2 separate regions of the Homo sapiens genome follow, and region 1 is linked to region 2. The links are contacts of gene promoters, found by promoter capture Hi-C in blood cells and fetal thymus (Javierre and others, 2016). All regions are on one chromosome and are shown on one strand. Each heading gives the region's core, a stretch centred on a gene start or on the middle of the fragment in contact. The rest is flanking DNA. Distances are from core to core; before and after follow the strand shown.

Region 1 (5,842 bases), core at 341-2,840, 290 kb before region 2:
AACCCATCCTGGCTGGGCACGGTGGCTCACGCCTGTAATCCCAGCACTTTGGGAGGCCAAGGTGGGCGTATCACCTGAGGTCAGGAGTTCGAGACCAGCCTGGCCAACATGGTGAAACCTCGTCTCTACTAAAAGTACAAAAATAAGCCGGGGGTGGTGGCACACGCCTGTAATCTCAGCTACTTGGGAGGCTGAGATAGGAGAATCACTTCAACTCAGGAGGCGGAGGTTGCAGTGAGCTGAGATCATACCATTGCACTCCAGCCTGGGTGATAGAGCGAGACTCCGTCTCAAAAAAAAAAAAAAAGAAAAAAGAAGAAAGCTCATCCCAGGTATTGTTGTGGGTGGGCAGAAGTCTGTTTTCTTCATGGTTTTCTGACCTTTGCCTCTCCCCTCAGGAAATGCTGACTTTTAACCCACACAAGCGAATCTCTGCCTTTCGAGCTCTGCAGCACTCTTATCTACATAAGGATGAAGGTAATCCGGAGTGAGCAATGGAGTGGCTGCCATGGAAGGAAGAAAAGCTGCCATTTCCCTTCTGGACACTGAGAGGGCAATCTTTGCCTTTATCTCTGAGGCTATGGAGGGTCCTCCTCCATCTTTCTACAGAGATTACTTTGCTGCCTTAATGACATTCCCCTCCCACCTCTCCTTTTGAGGCTTCTCCTTCTCCTTCCCATTTCTCTACACTAAGGGGTATGTTCCCTCTTGTCCCTTTCCCTACCTTTATATTTGGGGTCCTTTTTTATACAGGAAAAACAAAACAAAGAAATAATGGTCTTTTTTTTTTTTTTAATGTTTCTTCCTCTGTTTGGCTTTGCCATTGTGCGATTTGGAAAAACCACTTGGAAGAAGGGACTTTCCTGCAAAACCTTAAAGACTGGTTAAATTACAGGGCCTAGGAAGTCAGTGGAGCCCCTTGACTGACAAAGCTTAGAAAGGAACTGAAATTGCTTCTTTGAATATGGATTTTAGGCGGGGCGTGGTGGCTCACGCCTATAATCCCAGCACGTTGGGAGGCCAACGCGGGTGGATCACCTGAGGTCAGGAGTTCGAGACCAGCCTGACTAACATGGTGAAACCCTGTCTCTACTAAAAATACAAAATTAGTCAGGCGTGGTGGTGCACACCTGTAATCCCAGCTACTTGGGAGACTGAGGCAGGAGGATCGCTTGAACCCGGGAGGCAGAGGTTGCGGTGAGCCGAGATCATGCCATTGCACTCCAGCCTGGGCAACAGAGCAAGACTCTGTGTCAAAAAAAAAAAAAGAATATAGATTTTTAAATGGCTTTTACTTTTATATTCGCTAAACTTTCTCAAACTGGATCCTGCTTATTACAGGAAAGAGTTCTTGGTTGTTTTCTCCTTGGCCCTATCCCTGATTTACCCTTAGAGCCACACCAGGGTATGTTGAGGTGATCCAGTATATGGACAGAGGAAGGGAAACAGCTAAGAATGACTCCAGCCCCCATCCTATGCACTCACAGAAGCTTCCCATATCCTCTTGGAGAGAGAGGAAGAAAGTTTTTCCTTTTATTCCTTATAGTCTGGCTCCCACTAAAATATGTCAAGGCATAAAGTCTTGCTATTCCATCAATTTTAGAGGATGTGACAAGGGGCCTTTCCTTTTTCTCAAACCAAAACGGTTACAGACCCTAGATATTCCCTAAGGGAGGAAGAGAAAGCTTAGAGAGAGCAGAAGAAAAGTCAGAAGGATCCAAAGTCTCATAGAAAGGCACTGGGGTTGGCTCTAGGATCCTTCTGATTCCGAAATCTCATTGCTAGCCAAACACCAAGGATCTGTAGGAACAAAGGGAGAGAGATAAGTATCAATTAATTCTCAGTCTCAAAAAGGATGTGTGTGAGGGAACTGGAGAATGTTACCTCTGTAAAGCTAAAGAAGAGTCCAACACCCCCTAGGATTTTCAGGGCTTCGTCTGAATGCTTAAGAAACTTTTCTCCACACATCTGGCATGTGGGGCTCTGGCTCTTGCAGATCTGAGGATAAAACGTGAAGAATGCAAAGTTGTGAATGTAAAGTTGCTAGTGACTAATACCTATGCCGAATGTCCCTAGAAACTTTACTGTTATCTGACCAGTGTCCTACAAACTAAAATCCTACTTGGCTAATTCCCCAGCCTCTATCCACCCCCACCTCCCACCAACACAGCCCCAATACAAGAGGGCTTGTAGAGAGAGAAACAATGACATTCAAACTAAATTTGCCAACTTGGGCATTGTCCTTACCCAGTTTCCTACCTCCCCTGGCTGCTGCACCACCCCCAACACACTCACTGCAGTGCAGAAATCATAATCTTGTTGATACAGGGTTGTGAGGTTGAATAAGCCACAACAATCAAAACTTCTTTCCAGTTCATCCCGAGTCTTGTTGCTCATGACCCACCAAGAAGCATTGATGACATCTGTCTGAAAGATATGGGTAGAGGGAAATTAAGTCTCCCTACATCCTGTTATCAGTTCAAGTGCCTCAATTTCCCTAGCCCAGCAAAGGAAGTCAAACAGAAGCATAACGGTGTGCAACAATTATAGACACGATAAATATCTACCTTTTGAGGTTCTCTAGATCATCCTCATGGAAAATTAACCAGACATCCCAGAGGAAGCAAATAGCCCAAGAGGCCAGAAGCAGTGCACCTAAGGATGATCTTTGGGTAGTTGGGGCCAGACTAAGGAAGGAGTTCGAGGTTAAGAGGAAAATTTTAAAAAGCAAGTAAGTACTTGAAAGGGTACTGTCTTACCTGTTTGCTTCGGTTAATAGCCAGACATGAGCAAGAGATTACAAATTGGAAGATGAAGACCAAACCAAGGATGATCATGTACTGAGAGGAAAGGTTATGGAAAAAAGTCCTAGATTCCTTTATGTTTCATCTATAATAACTGTCTGGTCTCATCTGTTCATAGAACTTACACCACCATGTCAAATTGAAAGCAATAAAATCAGCTCTTGTTTCGTAGATTATGGGACAGGGCAGGGCAAGGAGACGTGTCCAAGATCCCTGAGGTCCCCTACCCTTCTAACATCTTCCTTAGATGACAGCCCTCCCAAGCCCCCGGTTGCCCCCATCACTTCAGGTCAGGATACAAAGAACAGCAGGACTTGGTGGTGGTTGACAGCACCCACCAGTCCAGCCACTGCAATAAGGAGAAGGAAGACTCCCACAGCAATGACTCCGCCGATGATGTGGATGCTGGACACCAGACCCAGGCCCTTGCCCCAAGCAGCCACTCCAATGAGCAACAAGCTCACCAGCTACGAAGAAAGAGCAGGATACATCTCAACAATTCTAGCATGCGGCACAGCCCAAGGCCATACAAGAGGACTTGGGAGCGGGGCAGGGGGAAGGAATAATGGAATAGTGTGTGAATGGGAGCTGGGGATGGTGCTATCCGCACCGGGAGCATCCCTAGGCACTCCCAAAGGTTAGAATGGCTAGGATGGCGGGGAGGGGGTGGCAGGGATGGTAGTATGAATGCAAAAGATGAACCCTCAGGATCATCCTATCACTTCCAGTTTGGAAGAAACTGAGGTTCACAGGAAGGAGGTATGGAACTTACGCCCACGGCCTTCAGTTCATTCCCCCACCCTCAGACAAACCCCCTTAATCAACCGGAAGTCTCCTCTCTCCCACGGAAGTCCCCAGGAATTCCCTCGTCGCCGGAAGTTCCTGGGAATCTTCCCGGAACCCCCATACACCCCTCTCCCCACCGGAAGTACCCTAGAGATTCTCCCCACGGGGCCTTTCCGCCTTGAAGCTTCCCCCACCTCCAAAACCTCACCATGTAGACCACGTTGAGAGCGCAAAGCGCATTCTTGGAGCAGGCAAAGCCGCCACAAACCATCTCCCCAGCTCTGGGGACCCAAGTGGTCCCAAGGACTTGGGGGGAGGGTATTGGGGACCGTCTTCCAGGACCCCGACAGCTTCTGTCTCTTTAAATCGAGGCCAGCCAAACCCAATACTCTGCGCCTGCACCGTCCCTCCCCTGCCTCTGGATTGGCGAAATGCGTGGCTAATCCTGGACGTCCAAGGCCTGCATGCCAATCAACCCGCATTACGTCACCGACCCGCCTTCTGTCCCTCTCCTTTTGTTTTTTCATTGGGCGAAACTTAAAACTAGGGGCAGGGTTTCTAGAGACTCTCTTAGGGACTACAGCCTAAACTCCAAAAGCTTAGGTTGAAAGCTGAGCTTTCTGTGGTCGGAGTTAGGAGAGGGCTAATTCCCAGGGAGACGGCTCTGGAGGAACTTAGGTGAAGGGGAGACGGCGGGAGGGGCGGGTAGGGGGCCGCTCTGAGAGCTGGGCAAAAAGGGCTCCGCCCGTAGAAGGAGGGCCCTTCCCCACCCCCTTCCCCCTGTTCTGCAGTGACCTCACGATGACGCCATTGTTTTGTTATTGCGTCACGCTCGGGAACACCCAAAGGAGCCACATATTGAGCTTATTTAGCCCGGCCGCAGAGTCCGCGGGTTGGACACAGCAACACCCAGCAAATCATCACACGTTTGTGTGTCCTCTAGTACCCATGTCCTGTTCCATATCTCCTCCTAAAGGGGTGTGAATATACCAGAAATTCAGTGTGGAAATAGCGGCCTCAGGCCAGCGCATTCCTGTATGTGGCATTGCCACAAGTGCACAGAGGGGTGTGCTCAGCATTTTCAGAGTACACGCCTGATCTAGGGCTTGCAAAAAAACGGCAGGCAAGAGGAAGAGTCTCATTTACATAAATATAAGTGGAAGGAGCCTCCACCTTTTCACTTGGGGGTAGGCTGATCAACAACTTTATTATCTAGTAAGTGCTTTGACAAACCGTCCTTCTCACGGGGGTAGGGAAAGGCATAATCCTTCTCTTCCCCAGGAGAAAGAAACAGTAGGAACAAAAAAGAAAACCCTCCAATCAACTCAACAGAATGATTTAAGTTTGTGTGTACTTAGATTCTATAGACTTACTGCCACAGTCAGATTGCCACTTCCTAGCTGCGTAACCTTTGGCCAGGCACTTAGAAACTGTCTGTGCGTGTTTCCTCATCTGTAAAATGGGGATAAATAACAACACACCCTACCTCTTGGGTTGTAAGAATTAAATGAGTTAATATATGTAGAATACTTAGAACAGTACCTGGCATATAGTAAACACTCAATGTTAGTTATTACTTTTCAGGTCATTTTACAGGTTCCTGTGGGCAATTCCAACCTCAATTCCCTTATCTTTAACTACACAGTATTTATATAAACTCTTACAGAAATTAATACCAAAAAGGTATGCAGGAGAATAGATGTTTGACAGGGCGAGAGAGGTGTTTGGGTCTTGAAACAAGGTAATTAAGTTATTATCATTATTATTATTTTGAGACAGAGTCTCCCTCTGTCGCCCAGGCTGGAGTGTAGTGGCGCGATCTCAGTTCACTGCAACCTTCACCTCCCGGGTTCAAACAATTCTCCTGCCTGGCTCAGCCTCCCGAGTAGCTGGATTACAGGTGCCCGCCACCACACCCAGCTAATTTTTTTGTATTTTTAGTAGAGATGGGGTTTTGCCATGTTGGCCAGGCTGGTGGCGAACTCCTGACCTTAGGTGATCTGCCCGCCTCGGCCTCCCAAAGTGCTACGATTACAGGCGTCCGGTGGAAACAAAGTAATTAGGTCAAACTACCCGCTACCTCCTACCTCCCACCCCCTCACTCCCCACCTCCATCCCCTTCCTACCCCAAGTCCCATCTTCATTGTCTCCTTCAGTTCCTCATCTACCTTCTTTTCTTTGAGGTCCTAAATCAAGGGCAAGACAATGATATTAGAAGGGGAACTGGTTGACAAGCATTTTGGTTGTGTGGT
Region 2 (5,628 bases), core at 1,491-3,990:
AAAGACTGTAACACAAGACCATACAAGCACACATTCCATTAACAATGATGTCAGAAAGATGATGTAATCACATGTCACACGGCCTCTGGAAAACTCCACAATACAATTTTAAGATAATGAGAATTCAAAAGGCAAATAACATGTTAGTATTATTATGAAAATAGCTTTGACTTTGTGGACACCCCTGAAAAGGGACCTCCCAGAAGCCTACAGAGTACACTTGAAGAACTGTTGCTCTGGACCATCACCCTAACCCTTCTTTATGACTCACATTTGTTGATTTTCTTTCTCCTTTTTATTAAGAAAGTATAAGCCAGGCGCGGTGGCTCACGCCTATAATCTCATCACTTCGGGAGGCCAAGTCGGGTGGATCAAGAGGTCAAGAGATTGAGACCATCCTGGCCAACATGTTGAAACCTCGTTTCTACTAAGAATACAAAAATTAGTGGGCGCCTGTAATCCCAGCTGCTCGGGAGGCTGAGGCAGAAGAATCACTTGAACCCAGGAGACGGAGGTTGCAGTGAGCCAAGATCGTGTCACTGCACTCCAGCCTGGTGACAGAGCGAGACTCGATCTCAAAAAAATAAAAAAGAAGAAAGAAAGTATAAATGCTTGTCTCCCAGTGGGTCCTGTCCCCTGGGAAAAACCAGGGAACTTCTTAGGCTTAGTGCCTCATTTTCCTGACTCCTGTTTCTGGGGGTCCCCTAAGCATCCTCCCTCAGCGCCTTGCCCATCTCCCTCTTGACCTTCCCTTAAGGTACCTCAACAGCCCTTACCCTGGGCCAGCCTGCTTACCCTGCTTCAAGCCTGCTGGACCATCTATCTGCTTCCTCCTCCCCTCACTTGAGGACTTTCTCATCTTGGGAGAGGCTAAGTAATTTTTCTCTGCCTTCCCTCCCTCCCTCCCTAGTCCCTGACATCTTCTCACAGGACTTAGGGCAGGAAATCATGCTTTCTGGGTAGACCCCTTTAGAAGAAACGCTTTACCCATCTCCCAACACATCAGCCAACCTGGAATAAGCCAGAGTCTCAGACAAGAAAGTGCCCATTTGGGTCCCATAGGGGTCAAGTGAGTCATATTGCCAGGTGGTTGTTGGGTTGGGGTGTGGATCAGGAATCTGATGCCTCCAGTCACAGATGCCCTGTGCCTGGGAAACTTCATCTTGGTCTCTTCACTCCAAAGCCCCAGGTCCTCTTGCTAGCTGCAGCCACAGGCCTCCACCACCATATCTGGCACATCCGTCTTGACCACATTGCCATTATGATCCAGGTAGAGGAGAGAGAGGGGCCTTCGGGCAGTAGGGACACAACAGGAGGTACTGGCAGGCCAAGGATTGTTGGCTTTGAGGAGGCTGAAGACGGCAGAATGGAAAGAGGCAGCAATGCCTGGGCTGCCAGCCAGGTGGGGAGGGCACTGCCCACTGCAGTAATTCAGCTGGTACCCCTCGGGCTGCAGTATCCAGTCCCGCCATCCCAGTTCCTGGAAGTCTACGTAATGGTCTCGCCTGCAACATAAGGGGGTCGCAGGCTCACAGGTGGGGGTCCTCCTCCTGGCCCGGCCTGCTCCAGGCTCATTGGCTCGGATCTTAAGCTCTAGGAAGGGCTGCTGGTGTCCTGCTGTGTCCAAGAGCCGCCTCGGTTGTCCAGTAACTGTGCTGTTGCCTTCTAGGGGTCTGCAGTCTAGTTGCAGTTTCAGGACACCAGACTTCTCACCCCTCAAGCCACTAGAGGGCAGAGTTAAGGTATGCCAGCCCAGGTTGGTGATGTGGTGCTCAGCCAGGAGAGTGCGGGACCCTTGGCGCCTCCTCCTTGGTCCCCATCGGAAGATCCTCAAGCAAAGAGTGCCAGGAAGGGTGGGGAGCACGTGCAGCCACAGGCGGGCATGGTACAGGTGGTGGGACCGAGGAGTGGACAGGTGAAAAGTGAGCAGGGAGCTGTAGGCTGAAGTGGAGTCTGCCCGAAAGACAGAAAAGGGAAAGAAAATGTGAGTAGAGATGAAGCTCTCCTCTGAGACTCCCCAAGCCCTGCCCACTGCTCTCCCTCGAACCTACCTCTAGAAAAGTAGAGACTGCTTTGTGTCCTCTGCAACCAGTCCCTGCCCCAGCTCCTCCTTCTCCTGCCACACCCCACTCCCTCTGCTGCTCCTGCCAGGCTCCCCTTCTGCCTCCCTTTCCCTGTCTGCTCTTTGCCTGTTGCTCTCTCCCTCACCCACCTGTGACAGTAGCAAAGCTGATGACCTCCTCCCCATTCCCTGGAGCCACACTCCCTGGCTGTAGTCTCCGGAGGGCTCTGGTCAGCGCTGCCTGGGGTGGAGGATGAGTTATTCTGGGACGACTGGTCAGGTGCAACCCATCCAGGATTTGCTGCTTGGCTAGCTCCAGCACCAGAGCTCGTTCTGCTTGGGGTGCCAGTTTGGAGCCCCCACAGGAGGGACACACAGACCCTGTCCCCTGTGCTCGCACCAGTGCCCACAGCAGCACCAGCCAGAGCTGGACATCAGGGAGCCGCATGCTCCTGGTGAATGGCCCTGGTTCAGGAGCCTCGGATGGCAGTTGCTCCGTCTGTTGAGTCTGATTGCTGGGGGCCAATGAGGGCACAGTGACAGCAGACACCACTGCCACACCTACCCTTGGCCAAGGGTACAGCCACCTGTCTTCTATTGTCTGGGACTCAGGAAGGCTGAAAGTAGATCATCTGATGGATAGCTGTGCTTGACCCTCACAGCTCATGTCTGGCTACTGACCTGGGGCCTCTTTAGAGCCAGCTGCCTGGGTCTTCCAAACCTAGTGGTCAGCCAGCCGACCTACCCTCTGAGTCCCAGGATTGGCCAGCTGTGCTGCCCATCAGGCCCCTGCAGGGGGTGGAGGTCCTCCTCCCCATCAGCTCAGGTTTCACCATCTGGCCATGGTGACTGGGCCTGAAGTAGGGGTATGGGGGTGGGGGGGTGCAATGTGGACACGCATGATGCAAGAAAGAGGATGATTTCACATGCTCAGTCCCCAAGGTCTGGGACTTGGGGGAGGGAACGCCTTATGAGCCAGGTGGGGAAGGGCAATTTTCCCTCATACCTCTAGTCTTTCTAGCTTCACCACTGCTGCAGCAGTTTCCATGAGGCAGCTGTGAGTTCCAGTGGGTATTCCTCTGGGGCCCTTAGGCCAGAAGGAAAATTCTGGTCTCTTTATTTCTAGCACTGGGGCTAGGACAGGGATGAGGGTTTGGGCGGGTAGGAGAATGGAGCCCTCTTGCTCAGGCCCAGGTGGCAGTGCCACGAGGCACAGAAGTCACCCCCTGACCCTGCCTGTGCTGGCCGCCCAGAGTCCAGTTGGCCTGGAGCATGATGTGGAGCATGATGTGGAGGAGGGCCAGAGCCGGCGGGGGTTGGGGCGGGGAACGTGTTCCTGTGATGTCTGGGGAAGCCCAGAGAGGTGGTGGTGGTGGTGATGCAATCTTACACAGGGCAGAGTCCATCAGGACTGTCAGGGGGCATGACACTTGGGAGGGCCTATACCCAGCTGCCACTTCTCTTTCAAGGGACTGTGAGAGTTGCCTAAATTTGGGGCATCCTAGAAGTAGTGCCAGGCCTCCTTTTTTTCTTACATTTTTAAAATTTAAATTTTATTTTATTTTACTGAGGTAAGGTCTCAATCTGTTGTTCAGGCTGGAGTGTAGTGGCACAATCATAGCTCACTGCAGCCTTGAATTCCTGGGCTCAGACAATCCTTCTGCCTCAGCCTCCTTAGTAGTTGGGACTACAGGTGCGCACCACCACACCTGGCTAATTTTTAAATTTCCCACAGAGACAGGGTCTCGCTATGTTGCCCAGGCTGGTCTTGAACTCCTGGGCTCAAGCAATCCACTTGCCTCAGCCTCCTAAAGTGCTGAGGTTACAGGCGTGAGCCACCGCACCACCCTTCAGGCCTGTTAATGGGGGTAGAAAATGGGAGCTCTAAGAGCTTTTGACAACAAAGCAAGGCAAATACAGCAGTCTTGGTTCCCAGTCTCAGCCCTCCTGACCACATTTTCTCACTGTCTTTATTTTATTTTATTTTATTTTATTTTTTGAGGCTGAGTCTCGCTCTGTCGCCCAGGCTGGAGTGCAGTGGCACAATCTCGGCTCACTGCAAGCTCCACCTCCCGGGTTCACACCATTCTTCTGCCTCAGCCTCCCGAGTCGCTGGGACTACAGGTGCCAGCCACCACGCCCGGCTAGTTTTTTGCATTTTTAGTAGAGACGGGGTTTCACTGTGTTAGCCAGGATGGTCTCCATCTCCCGACCTCATGATCTGCCCGCCTCGGCCTCCCAAAGTGCTGGGATTACAGGCATGAGCCACCGCACCTGACCTATTTTTTATTTTATTTTTTATGTTTTTGAGACAGGGTCTTACTCTGTCATCCAGGCTGGAGTGTGGTGGCCTGATCACAGCTCACTGCAGCCTTGACCTCCTGGGTTAAGTGATTCTTCCACCTCAGCTTCCAGAGTAGCTAAGTCTACAGGTGCGTGCCACCACACCAACCACACCACACCACACCACACAGGCTAATTTATTTTTTATTCTTTTGTAGAGACAGGGTCTTGCTGTGTTGCCCAGGGTGGTCTCAAGCTCCTGGGCTCAAGCGATCCTCTCACCTCAGCGTCCCAAGGCGCTAGGATTATAGACATGAGCCACCACACCCAGTCCTCACTGGCTTTAAATGGGGGGGGACCCAGACCCCTCCACATTGAATTCATGAAGGTGGGCCTCATGCTAGCTTTTCTCCTTATGCCCCAATTTCTCCAAGAAGCTTGATGGGGAGAAAGCTGTGGGGGAAGTGGGTGTGATTTGGAAATGTGTCTTTACTCCACTTTGCTCATCTCCCCTCTGTTTAGATGATGGGGGCTGTCAAGAGAGACTATTAGATCTAGGCGACAGGGTTCCTAATTGGAAGGCTGGACCTCAGTACCACCAGTGTCCACCATGTGGCAGTGCCGTGCCTCTGGACAGCAGCTGGCTTGTAGCTGGCTGGAGCTTCCCAGGGACAGGGAAGGGGCAGCTCTGGGGAATGGAGTGATGAGGAGTGCCCCTCGACCTCTCACTCTGGGGACGCTGCCTCCCCCACAAGAGACAGGGACAAGCTGGTTCCTTTGTTCTTTCCCCATCACACTGCCAGAGAAGAGAGACTGTCTTCAGGATCCACATCACTGCTACCTTTGGTTTTGGACCTCATCACACAAACACGTGGCAATGGAGCTTGGTGATGTACCAGGCTCTTCCTAGAACCTCAGGGCACTCTTTGGTGGGGGTGGAGTGGGGTGGGGGCGCACTGAGACGATTAGACCCTCCTGTCCACCCTGCATTTCTCCCCAAGCTCTGAAACACATTCAAGAGCTCTGTCCAGTGTTCTCCCCAGCTCCCAGCAACCATTCTGTTGGTTGGGCTGGGAAATGACAGCCCTCTACCCCCTCGGGTCTGGAACATTGGTCAGCAAAGTGGAGGTATCTATCCATGGTGGTGCCTCAGACGGCTTACCTGTTGGTATCAGTAGGCAGTCAGGGGAAGTGACAAGAAGTGGCTGCAGGAGTCACTGACCCCACCTCTCCCCACCCTCACTGTCAGATGCCCCCAGTTTCCAGCTCTTCCCACCCGCTTG

The links. The method cuts DNA at HindIII sites, captures the fragments that hold promoters and counts their contacts. A CHiCAGO score of 5 or more calls a contact.
Region 1: a contact is called between a fragment that was not itself captured here and the fragment with the promoter of INHBE in region 2, in 5 of 17 cell types (naive CD8 T cells, naive B cells, total CD4 T cells and 2 more). The highest score is 7.6, in naive CD8 T cells.

The regions. Positions count from the first base shown.
Region 1 is chr12:57,743,174-57,749,015 of GRCh38, reverse strand. It overlaps TSPAN31 (tetraspanin 31), which reads right to left and starts at 3,977. Exons shown (of 6, transcript NM_005981.5): 1 at 3,799-3,977; 2 at 3,104-3,271; 3 at 2,760-2,840; 4 at 2,296-2,427; 5 at 1,885-1,998; 6 at 1-1,800. The coding sequence starts at 3,861. The coding sequence ends at 1,726. It overlaps CDK4 (cyclin dependent kinase 4), which reads left to right. Exons shown (of 8, transcript NM_000075.4): 8 at 399-1,289. The coding sequence ends at 491. MIR6759 (microRNA 6759) reads left to right here and starts at 334; the gene lies at 334-398. RefSeq lists an enhancer at 3,167-3,246. The HindIII fragment of the contact is 195 bases long and covers 1,493-1,687 here.
Region 2 is chr12:57,452,419-57,458,046 of GRCh38, reverse strand. It overlaps INHBE (inhibin subunit beta E), which reads right to left and starts at 2,740. Exons shown (of 2, transcript NM_031479.5): 1 at 2,213-2,740; 2 at 22-1,953. The coding sequence starts at 2,510. The coding sequence ends at 1,199. It overlaps LOC124902947 (a long non-coding RNA gene), which reads left to right. Exons shown (of 2, transcript XR_007063335.1): 2 at 1-605. RefSeq lists an enhancer at 2,767-3,061. The HindIII fragment of the contact is 16,061 bases long and covers 1-4,784 here.